Regions from separate parts of the Homo sapiens genome. Here region 2 is linked to region 1. Evidence: promoter capture Hi-C in human tissues and cell types (Jung and others, 2019). All regions are on one chromosome and are shown on one strand. The core of a region is centred on a gene start or on the middle of the fragment in contact, and the rest is flanking DNA. Distances in the headings are between cores, read along the strand shown. Region 1 holds the start of WIPF3 (WAS/WASL interacting protein family member 3). Region 2 overlaps WIPF3 (WAS/WASL interacting protein family member 3).

Region 1 (6,752 bases), core at 1,734-4,233:
TGTCATGCTGTCGGCAAAGTCAGTCAAACATTACGATTCTTTTCTAAATATTCCAGCAGCCAGATGGCAGAAGCACCACTGTGACAAGGCAAACTTGCCTAAAGATAACTTTGTGATGCAGAACCATGCTCGATGGCACTGGGCTGAGGGGACTCACCCAGAGCTATTTCTAAATTGCTCCCCTTAACCCACGTTCTTTACACCAAAACTTCCTAAGACAAACATTCAACTCTGCAACTTGAAACTGGTGGTAAAACAAAGACGTTTCTACCTCTTTAAGTTCGGAATATTAGGCAGAAAAATAAAATCACTAGAAGACCACACATCAGGACAAAGTTCTCAGGATTTCTCCGTAGATTTAAGGCTACTGTACCCTAATGTTTCAAATATTTCTGCACCAAAGTTCATATATATTAAATATTTATAACACATTTGCTAGAAAACACATTTCCTTCCTTTTGCTGAGTTATTTGTGTAGGTTTCTTTTTTAAAAACTTCAACATTAATAAACATATTTATAAATTCTAGAATGTAAAAAAGTTGACTGCCATCCTGGTGAAAATTCTATGTTTCCCTCTACTGTTAATCACATTTTGTTTTCTCGGATCTTTCCTAGGTTATATTCTTTATTCTTTGTGTATGTGTTGGAGTGACTGCAAACTCGCAACCTGTACTATATGGTTTCTGAACAATAAGTCTCCTAAAAAGAGCGTTGCCAGGCTAGACCAGCTGGCTTTCCCCTGTTCTTATAACTGTATGTTCTTAGACACACACACACACACACACACACACACACACACTTCCTCCATTCCTTCTGCTGCTGGGTAACTGCAATCTGTGACACAATGTCACACTCACAATTACGTGAAAACAGAGACTCCTAAAGGAACAAAAAGGGGGCAATGGCAGGAAGCCAGCCTACAAGTGTCTGTCACCCTGACCGCTCTGCCCCGATTCAGGTGGCCACAAATTGCCTGTTGAAGGTTGCCTGTCTAGAATTTGAAGTCTGTGTGCCCAGGCTGTTACCCTGAGTAAGTAATTTAACCTCTGTGACCTTTTATTTTCTCATCTGTAAAAAAGGCACAATAACAATATCTCTGTTAAAGAATTGCTGCGAATCACAGGAGGTGATGCACATAAAGGCATCTGCAGTGTATGTTTCATTTCCAGTTACTTCTTAACTTTCTTTTGCCCCTCCTCGCCACTTCTTTTCTGATTTGGTTTTTGTGGTTTTTAAATGTATCTTTGAAATGCATTAGCTGGAAAACTGCAGCAATCTGTGTGTTACCACAATGAGTGGACTTTAGCATCACATTTTTATTTACTTTTTCACTGAGGTAGAATTTACGTTAAGTGCACAAGTCTCAAGGGTATAACTTCAGTAATTCTTAGGTCAAGGTGAGAAGCATTTCTAGCATCCCAGAAGCCTCCCTCATGTCCTGTCCAGGTATTGACCTGGAGTTTATCTCCTTGCAAGGCCCAAAAACAACCTCTCCTCTGACCTCTTTCGTAATGATAAAGTTAAAAAAAATTGAAGGGAGGCAGGAGTCCCAGTGATAACTATTAATGCTGGGCACAAGAAGTGCACTCCCAGTCCTCCCTGTGAAGTGAGAAAAGATTCTGGAAAGGAGGAGGCGGAGGGGCACAAACCTTCTAAATCACACTGGTCATGCCAAACAAGGCCCTCATTTACAGCCAAGGACCCCAGGCACAGAGGCGAAGAGACAGCCTAACTTCCTGCTACAGAGTAACTTTCCTCCCCAATACAGCCAGTTACAAAGCGCCCTGAGTGTCAGGGATTGGCCACACTGTCCCAGGGCGCATGGAACCGCTCTCCTGGCCTTTCCCTGCAGAAACTTCTTTCCAGAGGGAGGCGCACACACGGTCCCCACGCCGCCCCGGCGCCCGCCACGGGCACACCCACGCGGCTGGCACGCCACCCTCCAAAGGCGCTGTTCCTGAGAGCCGGTGCCTGCCTGCCCACGGGGCCCGGGCGGCGCTCCTCCAGGTCCAGGGCGGCCGGGTGCCCGCCCTCCCCGCCACCTTCAGAGAGTGCGTGTCAGGGGCTGGGGGAAATCTGCTCTGCCACCTACCTACCCACCACCTAATCCTCCAAAGGACCCTAAACCCATTTGTGGCCAAATGTACATTGCTGGAGCACAGTCTGACTACTGACCCCAGGGGCTTGGAGATGAGCACGGGAGGGGTGTCCAGAGACCTGCGCTCTGTCCCCATGAGCTGTGTGACCTTGGACAAGTCACTTCACATCTCTGGAGTTGGCTTCCTCACTAGGGGGCTCCTTCTGTATTCCCCAAGCCACCTCCGGCTCTGCAATTTCCTAGCTCTCTTTTACTCCGCCCCAGCCCTTCCCGCGACAGCCCCCTCCCCAGCGAGACCCCAGCCTTTTGTTCCGGGGGCGAAGCGGAGAAGAGAGAGCGTCGCGAAGGACCAGGCCGAGGCGGCCTCGGTGCCAGGGGCTGCTCACCGGGGAGTCCAGTCCGGAGAAGTCACCAAGCAACCCCGTGGTGACCTCGCTCCCCACCCCGCGGTTTGTTTCCGCCCGGCCCGGCCCGGCCCGGCCGGGGCGGCGTGGCAGGGTGCGGGTGGGGGGCGTGAGCGCCGCGCGGCACGTCGACAACCTCCTGGGCCCGGGGCTGCAGCCCGGCGGGGGTTCCCCGGCCCTCCCACGCCCTCAGGATCTCTGTCCCGGGCCGGGCCACTCTGCTCCGGGACCGACCAGGGCGGCGGCCGCCACACCGCCCGTTCCTTCCACCCTCGGGCACCGACCCGCACCCGCGCGGGAAGCCGCTACCTGCAGGTGGCGGAGCCGGGGGCTGGACTGGACTCGAGCTCCGGCCGACGTCTCCGCCGCCGCCGCCTCCGGCTCCGGGCTCCGTCCCGCAGCGCCCGTGCTCCAAGCGGCGCCGCTACCGCCGAGCTGCGCTCGGTGCGCCCGGCTCGCTCCCCGGCCACCGGCTCTGGTGCTGCCGGGACGCGGAGGCGGGGCCGCCGCCCCCACCTGCTCGCAGGCTCCTGCCTGGGAGCCGCCGCCGCCCCGCGGCAGGGACACGGCCCCGGCGGGCGGGGTCGCTCTGGGACCCTGGAGGCGGGTCCCAAGTCGGCGGGCGCGCCTCCCGGGTACAGAGTCCCAAGTCTCAGCTGCGGAGAGACTGAGGCCTAAGGCTGGAATTCCCCAAATAGGAGCTGTTGCGCGGGCGGCACACGGCCCAGCACAGCTACTCTGGGGACACGCCACTCCTTGAATTTATTCCAAAATGTTGAGCCCTTACTAAGCTCCAGGCGGTGTCATAAGCGATGGGGACGAGAGAACAAGATTACCTCTTGCCCTCGTGGAGTTCACAGTCTAGAAAAGGAAAGCGACCAATGGGCGATTACAGCACAACCAAGAGGAGGCAGAGGCCTCCTGAGCCGGCTCCCAGAGGGAGCACCTGATCTAAACTTGGGGTGGGGAGTAGGTCAGGGAGGGCTTCTTGAGGAGCTGACGTCGACGAGAAAAACTGAAGACTGAGTGTGAATTAGCCAGGTGATGAGAGAATTATCCGGGTAGCCTGGGGAGGTAGATTGATGTCCCAGGTAGAGTCGAAGGGAGGAGAAAGCAGACTGAAAACTGAAATAGGGCCGGGCGCGGTGGCTCAAGCCTGGAATCCAAGGACTTTGGGAGGCCGAGGTGGACGGATCACTTGAGGTCAGGAGTTACTAGCCTGGCCAACATGGTGAAGCCCTGTCTCTACCAAAAAATACAAAAGTTAGCCGGGTGTGGTGGCGCTCTCTAGTCCTAGCTACTCGGGAGGCTGAGGTGGAAGGATCTCTTGAACCCAGGAGGCAAAAGTTGCAATGAACCACTGCACTCCAGCCTGGGCGATAGAGTGAGACCCTGTCTCAAAAAACCAAACCAAACCAAACAAAGAAACAAACAAAAACAAACCTGAAATAAGCTTGAAGAACGGAAAACCTTGCTTCTGTCACATTTCTTGTTCAGGCCCTTGGAGGATGCAGAAAGTTTGTGTCCGAGGCTGAATGCATTGCTGTAGGTGCTGAGATCATTGGGTGAGGATTCTGTATTGCCCATGTCCTGGGCATTCCTGCTAGTGGAGGAGCTAAGCGGGTACTCGTGGACTGTTCACTCAGCCTCGGTGTTTGAGTATCTGCCATGAGCCAGACACTCTGCAGGGCCTCAGGGCAAGGTGTCTAACTCTAAAGTTGCTGCTGGTCTGGAATAGAGGAGAAACCTGGCGCTCAGCGCTGTGCTGAGGCTTGTGTGAAATGTTGGGGACCCAGGTGAGGGAGCAGCCAATGCCAGCAGGGAAGATCTCACACGTGGATTGCAGCCTGTATTCAGGTTCAAGTTCTGTAGTGGCTGCTGTCAAAGTATGTTCCCCAAGCAGCCCTTAGCTGATCTCTTAATTACTCATGTTTGTAGCTGGGCAATGTGTCGAAAGCAAGGATTAATAATACACTTTTGATGTCTTTCACTCCAGTGTCGTCAAGAACATGGTTTTCTCTTTTGATTTAGGTGACGAAAGGTCTATGTGTAGTGAGTGGAAGCTGATGAGGCACTTGCTTTCCACCTGTTTGTCCTGAGTTCCTCTTGCCCTTTCCTCCTTTAGAATCATAATAGATGACCACAGGTATGGAACCTGAAGAACAGTTCTCCAACATAAAATTCATAAGCCCTCTTACATGGGTGATTGTTACTAAAACAAAAACAAAACCCAAAACCCCAAAACATGACCCAGCCACTCTCCTTCTCTGGACCTCCAGTGCTAAAGCTCACTAAATACATAACCACTAGTATTCTAATTCAAAAAGGAAGAAAAGTCAAACTATTAGAGAAGACATTGCCATGGGCCTAGAGAGTTCCCATCAGATCTCCTGAGCAGCCCAAGCATGAGCCAGTTGGATGGAAAGCCTGTTATTTATCTCAAGAGATGCTGGATTGGATCAAAGAATTTGTTTTTTAAAATGCCTGGTTGTAGGGATGGGGAGGTGGTGAGTGAGGAATCAATTTGGACATTTGGGGCTGAAAGCTTCAAGAGGCATTCCATTCAGGTGATCAGTGTTTTCTATCCATGTGAAGTAACAATACCATTAGCATCTTGTTCCTACGGACATTAGGGAGGGATTCATTTCCACCTAGCTCCACTAAGACAAATTGACTTCAAGAAGGCACTAGCTCTTCCTAGTAGATGGTACTTGTTCAGTGGCAGACACTGTGAATTGTCTTCCCAATTATCAGTCTATTCTCCACTTCTTCCTTAGTGACAGAACCCAGGATTATGATTGATCCAAGACGACCATGACAATCCCCTTCCTGATTTCCCAGTCTTTCTTACAGCTAAGGAAGTCATTGACCCAGTTCTAGCCAATGAGTTGAAAGAAGGGTCTGGTGGGGGAGCCTCTGAAAAATTTTTTCTGGTTCTGTCTTTCCTTTTCCCTCTTTTCTTTTTTCTTTTTTTTTTTTTAGACAGAGTTTTGCTCTTGCTGCCCAGGCTGGAGTACAATGGCACCATCTTGGCCCGCTGCAACCTCCGCCTACGGGGTTCAAGAGATTCTCCTGCCTCAGCCTCCTGAGTAGCTGGGATTACAGGCGCTTGCCACCATGCCCAGGTAATTTTTGTATTTTTAGTAGAGGCGGGGTTTCACCATGTTGGCCAGGCTGGTCTCGAACTCCTGACCTCAGGTGATCTGCCCACCTTGGCTTCCCAAAGTGTTGGGATTATAGGCGTGAGCCACCGCGCCCAGCCCATTTCCCACTTTCTTTATGATTTGAATGCAAATGAAATGCCTAGTAATGCTACAACCAGATTGCAATCAAGAGCCAAAGACTGTGAGGCCAAAAGGTCAATATAATTGGGACAACACACTGGGAAATAGAGTCAGTGTGGTATCACTGCGCACTTGAGCCAAAGTGTGCAACTGTCCACCTCTGGATGGACTATATCCTATGTGAGAAAAATAACCCATGTTTGTTTCAGCCTCTGAGAATTCGTTTTCTAATTTTGCAGCCAAATGTATTCCTAACTTATACTATGACCTGGTAAAGAGCAAAAACCTCCTCTTTTCTTCTCTTCACTCACCAAGTGTCTGCAATAGCTCACCTTTCACACCTTCCACTTGCAAACATATATTTATATCTGTTCTGTAACTTCTTGAGCTCTTCAGGAGAAAGGCACTCCAGAAATATTAAGTGTTTTGTACACATGTGCTCACTTCAATCTCTCAAATATGTACAGATCAGCTATTTTCTGGTGATACTGCACTGGTGCTAGGGGTGCAAAGATGAATTCACAGCCCTGCCCCCCAGGAAGCCAACAGCTTAGTAGAGAACACAGCTTGTGAAGAGAATATTGCAATTTTGGGTAGGAGAGGAGCTTGTGCTGTAGAGAGAGCTGATACAGGAGAAGAAATGATGAACTATCTGTAGAAAAGGAGGGAGCCTGCAAGACCTGAGTTGGGCATCCATTAATGAATGGAGTTTCTCCTGTCAGAAAGTGGGGAAGGGAGGGCATTTCAGGGAAAAGAAAGTCTGAAAGAGCTTGGTGGTTTAGGAGCCTCAAATGCTACAGGTCTGGAACCACACTTCAGGTCTTCCTTCCAAACCTGACCCACTCTGTTGCCCATCCCCCAATGCCCCCCACCCCCCGCCATCTAGTTGGACCACCCAGAAATTTTGTAAAGCTACTTTTCCCCCATCAACCCTCCTTGAGGTTGAGCCTGTTGAATCTGTCCAA
Region 2 (6,752 bases), core at 1,554-4,053, 33 kb before region 1:
AATGGTATAAAAATCCACATTCTATTTTATAAATAAACACAAATGCTGTAGCCATAAACCCTACTGTCAGGCTTTGCCTGGGCAACCCAACTCCAAAGAATTTCTCAGCTGGTCAGTGACATGTAGGGAGAGTGCACTGCCCATGGTTAGGGACTGTGGCAAGAAAACCGAAATCACAGGCCCCCGAGGGGCTTCTTTGCTCATCTTGGAATCTACCAAGGGGTCAAAGTACAGTTGAAAGGAAAAGTTTGGTAAAATTCTGATGCATTTCAAATATCAAATCCATTCTATTTCCTTTAGATATATTTTTAGGTTACATCTTATAAGTAAAGCAACAGTAATAATTTAATTTTAAGTGGACCAACACACCATGTGGGCAATTTTGACATTGATATTGGATTTTATTTTTTATTTATTATTACTATTTTTTTGAGCCAGGCTGGAGTGCAGTGGTGTGATCTTGGTTCACTGCAACCTCCGCCTCTTGGGTTCAAGCCATTCTCCTGCCTCAGCCTCCTAAGTAGCTGGGATTACAGGTGCTCGCCACCATACCTGGCTAATTTTTGTATTTTTTAGTAGAGATGGGGTTTCACCATGTTGGCCAGGCTGGTCTTGAACTCCTGACCTCAAGTGATCCACCTGCCTTGGCCTCCCAAAGTGCTGGGATTACAGGCTTGAGCCACTGTGCCAGACAACATTGAATTTTAAAGAGATCAGACAAAGGAGCTCAAAAACTGGGGAACCAGAAGCAAGAAAAGAGGGAAAGGAGATGAAGAGAGCCCGTCTGGCTTTGCTTTAAGCCTGCTCCACAGCTTCAGCAGGCTCCATCAGCCCTTTTCTCTGTTCCACGCTCTTGAAAAAAGAAAAGATGCTCATCAGCGACGGAGATGAGGAGGAGCAAGAAGGGGTGAGGGGAGAGAGGTAGAAGGCTGAAACTAAAAAATGTTTAGCCTAATTTCCCCCTAACCTACTCCCCAGGTCTTCCAGAGCCGGTGTGAAGTTTGCATTTCGTTACAGAGGATCAGACATATCACACAAAATGATCCCCATCTTACAAAGATTACATATAATAAAACCTGACATGCTGGCTTATGCCACTGACAAAGGCTCTCTGCTTGACCAGAGAATCCTGACCTTGTAACCAAAATTTAACCAAGCTTCCAAAGCTTCTCCCAGGCCCATCTGTGCACTCCCTTGTAAAATCCAGTTTTGGCAAAACCCCCTGCTACGTCGGTTTAGCAAGAACGACCCCATCTCGATATCTGATCACCCTTGATATCCGATCAGGTGCCTTATCCTTCACCAACCACCAGGGTATGTCCGATCACCCTGGCTTGTCTTCAGTAAGAATCTTGTTAGCTGCATTCAGCCAGAATCTCCTTTAGCCCTGATGTTTCTTTTTAGTATATTCACTGACCCCCACCCTGCTCCTGGGCTATACATTCCCTCTTGCCCATGTTGTATTTGGAGTTGAGCCCAATCTCTCTCCCCTACTGCAAAATCCTATCCACCTGTTGTGATGGTCCTAAACAAAGTCTTTCTTACCATGCTTTCTACCTTCAAATATACTTTTTTCTTTCACAACATAGATGTTTAGAGTCCTGAACACTGATTATAAAAAGTTTTAACTCCATTTCTTAACCCAATTTACATAAATAATTGTTCATTCATTCATGTATTCATTCATTCAGTGAGTTGAGTACTTATTTCGAGCCAGGCATGAGTGACACAAAACATCAAATATAGACCCCAGTCAAATTTTTAAAAAAGTTAAAAACTACTACCTGCTCTGAAGTGGGGGGTTTGCAGATATAAAAGATATAAAAGCCAGTAATGTAGGAGGAAGGGACACCTGAGCTGGGATGACTGTGTAGAGCCTTTCCAGGCTCTCAATGGCTATGCAGAGGCCTTAAGTAGGAGACTCCAGGACAGGGGCACAGGAGGAGGTCTTAGAGACAGGCAGGGGCCAGACCATGCAGGATGGAGTGGGCCACAGCTCAACAGGGTCCAGGAAGTTCTCGAGAGGAGAAGCAGAGGATGTGCGCATGCAAGATCTCTGGCTACTGCAGTGGGTGGGTGGTGGGTAGTGGGAATGGGAGGCTGAATGAGCCCAGCTGACTGCGGGACAGGTGTTGGCAAACTTCTCTTGGAAGGGGCCAGGCTGTAAATATTTTAGGTATGTGGGCCAAGAGGCAAAAATCTAGAATATAATGTATATACTTATATAACAAAAGAGAAAAGAAACTTCCACAAAATATTTATTGACAGAACTCAGAACATAGTAATAATAATTGAGTAAAATTTTTAAAATTCAAGCCTACTAGTGAGAAGAATGGAATTCTTTGAGGAATAACATTTTGCTTAATTGGTGTTCTGCTGCTGTAGCATAAAAACAGTCATAGACAAATTGCATGAGTGTGGCTGTGCTCCAATAACACTATTTATGGATTGAAACATGAATTTCGTATACTTTTCATGTGTCACAAAATATTACTTTTCTTTTAATTTTTTTCCAGCCATTTGAAAATGTAAAAACCAGTTTTAGCTGGAGGACGATAAAAAACAGGTGGTGAGCTGGCTGTGGCTCAGGGGTCCTGGTTTGCCAGCCTCTGTTGCAGAAGGTCCCACATTCTGCATGTGTCTGATTGCTTGCTCATGAGGTCATTCATTCCGGGCAGATTACCACAGGGTGACGCTCTGTGCGCCTCCTTGTATCCAGCAGAGGCTTGTGATAGGAGGTCATTCCATTACACGTGACGGTAAGTTTGATCCATTTTAAAGAGACACTTTCCCCTTTGCAGTAAGAAGCATCTGTGGGTGATACTTCTGACCCTGAGAACATCTTTTTCCCCCACAACCTTTCACCCAGTGGTTTTAGCTTTCATAGATGATTCTTGTCTGAATCAATCACGACATTGGAAGTTACAAATTAATTTGGATATGATTTTTTTCTCTTTTAACCTTTTAAATTGTCCAGTGCCACAAATAGAAAAGCACATAAAATAATTTTGTACAGTTTAACGTATTTCTATAAAGTGATACTGTATGTCATCGCCACCTGTGTCAAGAATTAGAGTCTTGCCAGCACTCTAGAAGCACCCAGGGCCTTTCTGATCCTGAGTCCCCCACTCTCCTCCCAAAGGGTGCCATCTCCTGATTTTATGGTTATCCCTTTCTTGCTTTTCCTCATAATTTTACCAGCTTGTCTTGCATTCCTAAACACTGTAGTTTATTTTTTTCTGTTTTGGAGCTTTATATACATGGGATCATACAGCATGTATTCTTTTGTCACGTGGCTATTCCTCCACATTGTTGCATGTATTGTTGATTCATTTTCACTGCTGTATAATACTTTAGAGCATGACCATAACACACATTTTATCAATCCATTCTGCCATTGATGGACATAGGGGGTTGTTTCCAGTTTTGTGCTATTCATGCTGCTACAAATGTTCTTAACATGTCTTTTGGGTCATGCAGGCACATACTTCTCTTGGATATCTACCTAGGATGCACATGTTTAACTGTGGTAGGTGCTGTCAAACGGTTTTCCAAAGGGTTTATATCAATTTACACTCCCACCAGCAGTGTATGAGAGTTTCCATCACTCCACATCCTTGCCAACATTTGTCATTTTCTTCTTTTTAATTCTGATATGATTTTAATGGCTGCTTCATATACCATTTAGAGGATATATAATAAATTATTGAATCTGCTGTCATAAAAAATGTGGGTTGTTTTTTGTTTCTTTCTTTTTGGTTATTATTACAAGTAATACTTTCATTAATCTCCTATAGCTATATATTTCTGTATATCTATGATTAGTTACTTAAATAAAAATTACTTGAAGTGAAGCCATGTCAAGAAAATTACTTGAAGTGAAACTAGGTCCATTTTTTACTGACAAATTGTATCTTAGGGCATTTCACTAAGTTTTGCTCCCACCAAGAGTTATAAGTGCCTAGTTCCTAATACTCCAGCCAACATTTAAAAAGTATCTCACTAGGCTGGGCGCAGTGGCTCACGCCTGTAATCCCAGCACTTTGGGAGGCTGAGGCAGGTGGATCACAAAGTCAGGAGATCAAGACCATCCTGGCTAACACAGTGAAACCCCGTCTCTACTAAAAATAGAGAAAATTAGCCGGGCGTGGTGGCGGGCACCTGTAGTTCCAGCTACTCGGGAGGCTGAGGCAGGAGAATGGTGTGAACCTGGGAGGAGGAGCTTGCAGTGAGCCGAGATAGTGCCACTGCACTCTAGCCTGGGCGAAAAAGCAAGACTCCGTCTCAATAACTAAATAACTAACTAACTAAATAAATAAATAAATAAAAATATCTCACTAAACTGATAGATAAAAATGGTTTCTCATTATTTTAATTTGTTCTTATTAAACTGTAGTGAGGTTAAAATATTTGCATTTCTTCAATCTAATCATATCCTGTGCCCATCTTTGTATTCATCATTTCCATAGTAATCTGTAAGAGCTCTTTATATGCTAAAGACGTTAATTATTTGCCTTTAATATGTATTGTAAGTGTACACATTATTTTTCTACATAAATGTAGAAAATATGTTTTAAGAAAATATTAAAATTTACATGATTATTTTACTCCTAAATTGACCTGTTCTTCAGAAAGAGAAAGAGAGAGAGAAATGAAGGAGAGAATTCAAAAAATTTAACCAAATGTACAATTATTTTTATTATGCATTTAAGCATCTTTAAAGAAGAAATTCCCTAATAAAATATTAAATGTTATTGTCAACATTATCAAATTCTCTTCTGATTTTTGCTATTTATTACATATATTAAGTAGTTGATTTCATTATGCACAAAATGTGTTTTTCATTTGTTTGTTTGTTTGTTTTTTTGAGACGGAGTCTCACTCTGTTGCCCAGGCTGGAGTGCAGTGGCGTGGTCTCGGCTCACCGCAAGCTCCGCCTCCTGGGTTCACACCATTCTCCTGCCTCAGCCTCCCGAGTAGCTGGGACTACAGGCGCCCACCACCATGCCCAGCTAATTTTTTTGTATTTTTAGTAGAGACGGGGTTTCACCGTGTTAGCCAGGGTGGTCTCCATCTCCTGACCTCGTGATCCACTTGCCTCAGCCTCCCAAAGTGCTGGGATTACAGGTGTGAGCCACCATGCCCGGCCAAAATGTGTGTTGTTTCCAATCCATCATTTTATATCTACTTTTCCATATCAGCATAGATGTAAGTTGTTTTTGTTTTTGTTTTGAGACAGAGTCTCACTCTGTCACCCAGGCTGGAGTGCAGTGGTGCGATGTTGGCTCACTGCAACCTCCGCCTCCTGGGTTCAAGTAATTCTCCCTGCCACAGCCTCCTGAGTAGCTGGGATTACAGGCACCTGCCACCATGCCTGACTAATTTTTGTATTTTTTAGTAGAGATGGGGTTTAGCCATGTTAGCCAGGCTGGTCTTGAATTCCTGACCTCAGGTGATCTGCCCACCTCGGCCTCCCAAAGTGCTGGGATAACAGGTGTGAGCCACTGTGCCCCGCCAGATGTAAGTTTTAATTACCACCACTGCATAATGCAATTTTTAATTAACAGTATGACATAACACATTTCATTTAGTTCTCGTAAGCCATTTAAGATCTATTTTTTCGCTAGAATAAATAGCATTGTTGGACATATCCTTGCATAAATTCTTTTTGGTATTTTTAGGGTTAAATTCTTAAATCAGTCTCAAAAATAAAACTACCTGATTACCAGGGGAAAACTATGATACATACACATTTACTGTTTTCTTACAGAGAACACTCCAGAAAGACCTGTTCAACTTTTACTGAGTCCTAGACATTTGTCTGTCACCAGCAATGTTTAAAAAGGATTATTTTCTCAAACCTCCAATAACATGGATTTTGTTCAGTTTATTTATTCTGGCTAAATTTATGGGTACGTCAGTATTTGCAGTTATTCTAAGTTGTACTTCTTCAGTGCTTGCAAGATCCATATGATAGTTTCATGTGTGTTTACTTACAAACCATCACTTTGTGGCAATGACCTTGAATTTGACTTTGGGTCAAATTCAGCAGTGAAACTTCAATACCTATTCCTATTCTTTGTTTATATTGGTTAGAAAGCTCTCAAACGTAATTTATACTATGTGCTTTCTTTCTACTGTCTTGCAGGGCAAGAGCCAAGTTCCAGGCAGGTCTAAGCCCTTGGCACCTCAGATAGGGTCAGTGTCCAAACGAATGTCACGTGGGGTGACATCTCAGGCATACTCTCACCCTCACCAGGGCCTGTGGTCATGCAGCAGGGGCCGCAGGCTCTCCCTTCATAGCCAACACTCCTCAGGGCCATGTCATCTGCACATCTGAGGGAGGGTTGCATCCGGTGGGGAGGATGGCAGGGAGGTTCTGTTCCTGGCTTCTGCTGACTTGGCTCACACCATCTCTAAGCAGCCCTGTCTCTGTGTGCCATACCGTCATCTCGTTCATTTTCCACGGAAAACAGAAGCTGCGGAGCGGATGCGAGACGCCCCTCACTGAAGTGGTGTGAGGAATGGAAAATGAGTGTGAGAAGTGCTCCTGGTTTTCTTCAGAGGAAAAGTTTGCCATAAGCAGTAAGCACTAGCATTTTTCTGAAACCGTGTGTGCGGTGGTGATTTTTGCCCCACAAGGGGACATCTGGCAATATATAGGGCCATTTTTTTACTGCCACAATTGGGGGGTGCTACTGGCATCTAGTGGGTAGATGCCAGGGATGTTGCTAAACATCCTACAATGCATA

What was found. Contacts are between HindIII fragments. The study calls those that stand out against the background at their distance.
Region 2: a fragment that was not itself captured here is called in contact with the fragment with the promoter of WIPF3 in region 1 in 1 of the 25 tissues and cell types used here (ovary).

Annotation. Positions count from the first base shown.
Region 1 is chr7:29,802,739-29,809,490 of GRCh38, reverse strand. It overlaps WIPF3 (WAS/WASL interacting protein family member 3), which reads right to left and starts at 2,983. Exons shown (of 9, transcript NM_001080529.3): 1 at 2,813-2,983. RefSeq lists an enhancer at 2,338-3,247. The HindIII fragment of the contact is 12,406 bases long and covers 1-4,502 here.
Region 2 is chr7:29,835,471-29,842,222 of GRCh38, reverse strand. All of the region lies in intron 2 of WIPF3 (WAS/WASL interacting protein family member 3), which reads right to left. Among named protein-coding and RNA genes, the nearest start is that of WIPF3, 32 kb to the right of the region's middle. The HindIII fragment of the contact is 3,282 bases long and covers 1,163-4,444 here.